Regions from separate parts of the Homo sapiens genome. Here region 1 is linked to region 2. Evidence: promoter capture Hi-C in 16 types of primary human blood cells and fetal thymus (Javierre and others, 2016). All regions are on one chromosome and are shown on one strand. The core of a region is centred on a gene start or on the middle of the fragment in contact, and the rest is flanking DNA. Distances in the headings are between cores, read along the strand shown.

Evidence for each region. The method cuts DNA at HindIII sites, captures the fragments that hold promoters and counts their contacts. A CHiCAGO score of 5 or more calls a contact.
Region 1: a fragment that was not itself captured here is called in contact with the fragment with the promoter of INPP5K in region 2 in 1 of 17 cell types (endothelial precursors); the score reaches 5.7 in endothelial precursors.

What each region holds. Positions count from the first base shown.
Region 1 is chr17:1,250,761-1,253,864 of GRCh38, reverse strand. No RefSeq gene overlaps it. Among named protein-coding and RNA genes, the nearest start is that of BHLHA9, 18 kb to the left of the region's middle. The HindIII fragment of the contact is 4,133 bases long and covers 1-3,104 here.
Region 2 is chr17:1,514,598-1,517,974 of GRCh38, reverse strand. INPP5K (inositol polyphosphate-5-phosphatase K) reads left to right here and starts at 1,363. Exons shown (of 12, transcript NM_016532.4): 1 at 1,363-1,519. The coding sequence starts at 1,476. It overlaps PITPNA (phosphatidylinositol transfer protein alpha), which reads left to right. Exons shown (of 12, transcript NM_006224.4): 12 at 1-257. It overlaps PITPNA-AS1 (PITPNA antisense RNA 1), which reads right to left and starts at 1,056. Exons shown (of 2, transcript NR_028514.1): 1 at 882-1,056; 2 at 1-257. RefSeq lists a silencer at 978-1,277. The HindIII fragment of the contact is 10,075 bases long and covers 1-3,377 here.

The DNA.
Region 1 (3,104 bases), core at 40-2,539, 260 kb after region 2:
CAGCTGGGCAGCCTCTCAGCGGACTGGTGTGAGCTGGGGCTGCGGGGAAGGTTCCAGAACAGCGGGCTATGTTTAACCTGGCACAGGTGCCCAATTCCCAGCTCAGGGAAGGGGCGTGGTAGGTGGGAAACAATCTTGCTTTCATTGTTTTTTATCATTGCATTATTTTTTACATTAAAAAAATTTTTTTTGAGACAGAGTCTTGCTCTGTCGCCAGGCTAGAGTGCAATGGCACGATCTCGGCTCACTGCAACCTCCGCCTCCCGGGTTCAAGCGATTCTCGGCCGGGCGCGCTGGCTCAAGCCTGTAATCCCAGCACTTTGGGAGGCCGAGGCGGGCGGATCACGAGGTCAGGGGTTCGAGACCAGTCTGACCAACACGCTGAAACCCCGTCTCTACTAAAAATTCAAAAAATTAGCCAGGCTTGGTGGGGGGCGCCTGTAGTCCCAGCTACTCGGGAGGCTGAGGCAGGAGAATCGCTTGAACCTGGGAGGCGGAGGTTGCAGTGAGCCGAGATTGCACCATTGCACTCCAGCCTGGGCGACAGAGTGAGATTCCATCTCAAAAAAAAAAAAAAAAAAAAAAAAATAGCCATTCTCCTGCCTCAGCCTCCCGAGTATCTGGGATTACAGGCGCCCTCCAACATGCCAGCCTAATTTTTGTATTTTTAGTAGAGACGGCATTTCACCATGTTGGCCAGGCTGGTCTCAAACTCCCAACCTCAGGTGATCCTTCTATCTCAGCCTCCCAAAGTGCTGGGATTACAGGCGTGAGCCACTGCACCCAGCCCATCGTTTATTATTTTATTAAACATTTAGGATGCTGGATTCAGTGGGCATCTTCACCTGGTTTCATTACTAGTTTTCCTTTTCACAAATCCTTCCGGCTTGTTATTAAGAAATAACTTTAGGGGCCGGGCGCGGTGGCTCACGCCTGTAATCCCAGCACTTTGGGAGGCCAAAGTGGGCAGATCACGAGGTCAGGAGATTGAGACCATCCTGGCTAACACGGTGAAATCCCGTCTCTACTAAAAATACAAAAAATTAGCCAGGGGTGGTGACGGGCCCCTGTAGTTCCAGCTACTCGGGAGGCTGAGGCAGGAGAATGGCTTGAACCCGGGAGGCGGAGCTTGCAGTGAGCGGAGATTGCACCACTGCACTCCAGCCTGGGCGACAGAGCGAGACTCCATCTCAAAAAAAAGAAAAAAAAGAAATAACTCTCTCCCCCAGGGGCCAAAGAGGGCCGGGGAGAAAATGAAATTGACCAAGTGTCAATGAACGAGGGCAGGGGAGGGATAAATGCTCCATCCTGCTCCTTCAGCAGTGGGCGTGGGTCCAAAACGACTGTTAGACTCATAAATTGCTCACTTATCCTCCCTGTTTGCTCCAAATGGCTGGAAAAGCTATTTCTGCTAATCACAGGCGTAGGCCCGTTGCTGGAAGGGGGCCAGCCTGGGCCCAGCAGGAGTGTGAATTGCACCCGGATTCATTATCTGTATCTAGTCCCACATTTTAGTGGTAGGTTTTTGTTTGATTTCAAAGTGAGATGGTTAGGTCATTATTTGTTAAATTATAGCTTTTAATTAGCAGATCTATTGAAATGAAAAGCCTGGAAGAGACACACACACACACACACGCCGCTAAGTTTTTGTTTGGAATTTATAATTATTACTGTTAGGAAAACATTAGTTGGGGGCGTTAAAGTCATTTTTTTTTTTAAAGAAAATCTTCAAATTATGCGCTGTTGGGGGAAGGGGGGAGGGAGACACCAGTGAGCTAGAGACCTCCCGTAATGCCAACAGTATTATTACCCAGCCCCGGGTCCTTGTCTTTTTAGAAAGAAAGGGAACAGATGGGTTTATAGTAATTCATATTCTTTCTCCTCACGGCGGGAATCAGAGATTAAATCAGTGGGTAACCAAGACTGGCTGCCATGGAGTTCTGCTCCGTTCCTAATTCCCCTGGAAGGTAGGGAGGATGGTTGAGGGGCGGTGGGGTTGGAGCAGGGCAGTGTGGTGGGGAGTGGGTCAGCCTTGGTAGATTTGCCTCTGGGGGTTTAGTTTCTGCCTTTTGGAGGAACAAGGAGAGGCTAATATTCTCTCTCTCTCTTTTTTTTTTTTGAGTCTTGCTCTGTCGCCCAGGCTGGAGTGCAACAGCGAGATCTCAGCTCACTGCAACCTCCGCCTCCCGGGTTCAAGTGATTCTCGTGCCTCAGCCTCCCGAGTAGCTGGGACTACAGCGTGCACCCACTCCCGGCTAATTTTTGTATTTCTAGTAGAGATGGGGTTTCAACATGTTGGCCAGGCTGGTCTCGAACTCTTGACCTCGTGATCCACCTGTCTCGGCCTCCCAAAGTGCTGGGATTACAGGCGTGAGCCATGGTGCCTGGCCGGCAGTGATCTTGATCCCCACCCTCTTCCCCAGGGTTGGGGTGCGGGGGTGAGTTCCAATTCAGATGTCTTCCATCTTCTCTTATTTTGAAGCCCCTTCCTTTGAAAACAGGACACTTTGCAAAGGTCACTTGTAACCAGAGGCTTTCTGGTTGTGTGTTAAGGGTTTTTCTGAGTGAGCTTTCCCAGAAGGGGAGATGAGAAAATAGCCTATTAATAAATAGCACGTTGTTCTAAAAGAGTTAGGGGCTTCTGGCCAGGCGTGGTGACTCACACCTGTAATCCCAGCACTTTGGGAGGCCGAGACAGCTGGATCACGAGGTCAGGAGATCGAGACCATCCTGGCTAACACAGTGAAACTCTGTGTCTACTAAATATACAAAAAATTAGCCCGGCGTGGTGGCGGACGCCTGTAGTCCCAGCTACTCGGGAGGCGGAGGCAGGAGAATGGGGTGAACCTGGAAGGCGGAGCTTGCAGTGAGCCGAGATGGCGCCACTGCACCCAGCCTGGGAGACAGAGCGAGACCCTGTCTTAAAAAAAAAAAAAAAAAAAGAGTTAGAGGCTTCTGTTGTTATTGGGGAATTGTTTGTTTGTTTTGATTTTGCAAAACCTGAGTGTGGATCTGATGCTCCGCCTCCCCATCTTGCCTTCATCCTTATGCTTAACAATCCCATTTACTCCACTCTAGGAGTAATCAAAGATGTACAACCCTCT
Region 2 (3,377 bases), core at 114-2,613:
GTTTGGTGATGTCCATTTTCCAGCTGTATGTATCCTCAAACTTGCACTGATAACCGCCATTTTACCAGGGCAGGATTAGGAAGAGGTACAAAGGTGTGTCTGAAAATTTTTGCACGTGGATTTCTGCATATAATAGTCCCGTGTCAGTTTACTTATGCAAACATTGCACATCTGAATTGTAATTCGGCCGTTTCCTACTGACAGGATGTCCTTTTGCTTTTGTCTGCCTCCTCTTCACATCTTCCTCTTTATCCACCCTACCAAACAAGCAAAACATTTATTTAAAGTAGTTTTAGGCCGGGCGCGGTGGCTCACACCTGAAATCGCAGCACTCTGGGAGGCCGAGGCGGGTGGATCAGCTGAGGTCAGGAGTTCGAGACCAGCCTGACCAACATGGCGAAACCCCATCTCGGCTAATTATTATTATTATTTTTTTTTTTTGAAACGAAGTCTCGCTCTGTCGCGCAGGCTGGGGTGCAGTGGCGCAATCTCGGCTCACTGCAACCTCCACCTCCCGGGTTCAGGCGATTCTCCTGCCTCAGCCTCCCGAGTAGCTGGGATTAACAGGCGCGCGCTATCAAGCCCAGCTAGCTTTTGTGTTTTTAGCAGAGACGGGGTTTCACCATGTTAAGGCCAGGCTGGTCTTAAACTCCTGACCTCAAGTGAGCCGCCCGCCTCGGCCTCCCAAAGTGCTGGGATTACAGGCATTGAGCCACCGCGCCCCGGCCTACGTTTCATTTATTGACGGCTAATTCTGTAGGAGTCCAGGAATCCCCAAACGTCCCATATGCAATAGGTAATCCAATAAGTTTGGAGTAGAAGCCTGAAAGTGGGCGTGGAGAACGGAGGCGCTCCCGCAGTAGCAGGAATGGGGAGATTACCTGCAGCCGGGGGGCGGGGGAGACCGGATCCCAGGCAGGACAGTGGCTAGGCTGCGTGTCCCCACCCCCGACCCTCGTTTGACCCCTGGGAGCCGGGGCGAAGACAGCACAAGGACGGAGCCCTCGGATCCCTCACGAGTGGGGCAGAGGCTGCGGCGGCGGCGAAGAGACAACTTCCGCCGGAAGACGGCCCCTGGCGCGGGGCACGCTGGGAGCTGCGGACGGCGGGCGCGGGCTGGGCCGGGTCTAGTGGCGGCCGCACACCTCGCGTCGTCTGGGGCAGTGTTGCGCGTGCGCTGATGACAGGCCCGACACGCCCCTCTTACGTCCGCGAACCCGTCTTCGCTCAGCCTCTCGCAGCTTTGCGCTCGTGGGAGAGTCCCGCCTCCTTCTGCGAACCGCACCACCCAGATCCCGGGGTGCGCGGAGGGCGCGTCTCTGACGGAAGCCGGGGCGGACGGTCGGAGTCCGGAAGAAAAACAGTCCGCGACAGCTAGGCGCGTGAGACCGGCCGCCCGCAGGGCTGCTCTGGCCGGGACCCGCTGGCCGGGAGACGCGAACCTGCCGGACCACCGCGCGGGGACGACGGCGGCCATGAGCTCGCGGAAGCTGAGCGGGCCGAAAGGCAGGAGGCTCAGGTGAGGGCACCCTGGCGGCAGAGGCAGGCCTGCTCGGGGGGATCGGCGCCCCTTGGGCTGCGGGCTGGGGGTGGACAAGGCACCAGACCTCCATGACTGCCTTTGGTTCAGAGGCGCTCTCGCCTTCTCCCACGCCTGTGTCAGGTGGGCTGTGTTGGGCCCGAGCCTCGCGCCCCCTCTAAGCCGAGGCCGCCAAGCTCGTTCCCACTGGGGCGCAGCAGGTGTCCCGGTTGCTTTCTGGAGAGGACAGCCGTGTGGGGTTGTTTGAGGTTAAAGACATAACGAGGCCGTCACCCTTCGGCTCTCGGTTAGAAATCTTTTTCCTACTTTTCATCAGCACATACATCAGGAGGTCTGCCTGATCCCATGGTGAACCCCGGGAATCCGAAATCAGATTGAGATAAGATCCTTTAGGGAAGTGACTTAGCCTGGTCTCTTGCCTGCTCTTTCACGGGGAACAACGCTAATCGCCCACTTAGTCTAAGTCACGATGCTTGGATTTGCTGCTAATCGTCGGATTTGAGAGTGGGAACAAGAAATCCGGACTTTTGCTCTCCATCCTCTTAGAGTGAGTCTGGGAAAAGAAGTCTCTGAGTAAAAGGTCTTTGTTCCTTAAGCCTCTGTCGGACAGCAGGGGGAGATCGTAAACAAATGAAGCTCAAAATCTCAGGCCGAGTGCCTGGGAAGGTGGTTTCTGTATAGTGTTGTTTATGCTAACAGGGAGGGACAGGAAGTTGCTTTAAACTGGCCAAGAATTTCTTGAAGTGCTTTTGAGAACGTCGACCTCTAAGGACGGGGTCTGTTGGAGGAGAGATGTTTTGGCATTAACTGCCCTTTTCTCCCATCCCCCTGTACCCTCTGCCATTCCAGATCTCCAGCTGCTGCAGGTACTCCTCATCGTGTGCCTAGGACTCATGCTAGGCTGTTCCTGGTCTCTGCAGGGTCTGTAGCTCCTGCCCGCTCTGTGCTCCGCACAGTCTGAGGCTTCTTGAAGAGCTGCTGTGACTGACTGTTCCACTAAAGACATCTGTAGGTCTCTCTTTCCTGAGCCTCTGACTGGATCCAGTGTCATTGAGGCCCCTTATCTAGTTTTCTTGCTTCCCTAAGACTTGTAAGCTGAGGTGGAAAATATCCAACTGATGACTTTTCCCCAGAGAGTACTCTTTATTTTTCACGGAATACTACGCAGACATAGAGCATAGACTCTTAAGAGAGATGTCGAGAAACCTGTTACTTAAAAACTCCTTGGCCGGGCGCGGTGGCTCAGGCCTGTAATCCCAGCACTTTGGGAGGCTGAGGCGGGCGGATCACCTGAGAGATCAGGAGTTCAGGACCAGCCTGGCCAACATGGTGAAACCCCGTCTCTACTAAAAATACAAAAGTTAGCCAGATGTGGTGGCACACACCTGTAATCCCAGCTACTTGGGAGGTTGAGGCAGGAGAACTGCTGGAACCTGGGAGGCGGAGGCTGCGATGAGCCGAGATCATCCCAGTCCACTCCAGCCTGGGCAACAGAGTGAGACTCAGTCTCAAAAAAAAAAAAAAAAAAAGTCTCGCTGAAGTGCTTGGCAAAATTGGCTTGCTCCAGGGATCTGCTAGGGAGGAGAGAGGAAGGGAATATGGTGGTGTTATCTCTTTTATTTTTTAAATTCCTCTGCCCTTGTAGTGCTGAGGCCTATCACAAGGTGAAATCTGAATCCCTAGGATCTTCCTGGTGGTCTTAGGAACACTTGGGGTGAGAAGTAGGGATCAGAAGTTGCCGACTGAGCCATAGATGATGACAGAGGGGTGTGGGTGGCTGGAGGAGCTGATGGAATTAATACATTCCTGGCAGTTCAGCCCCCTAACCCTTCGCTAG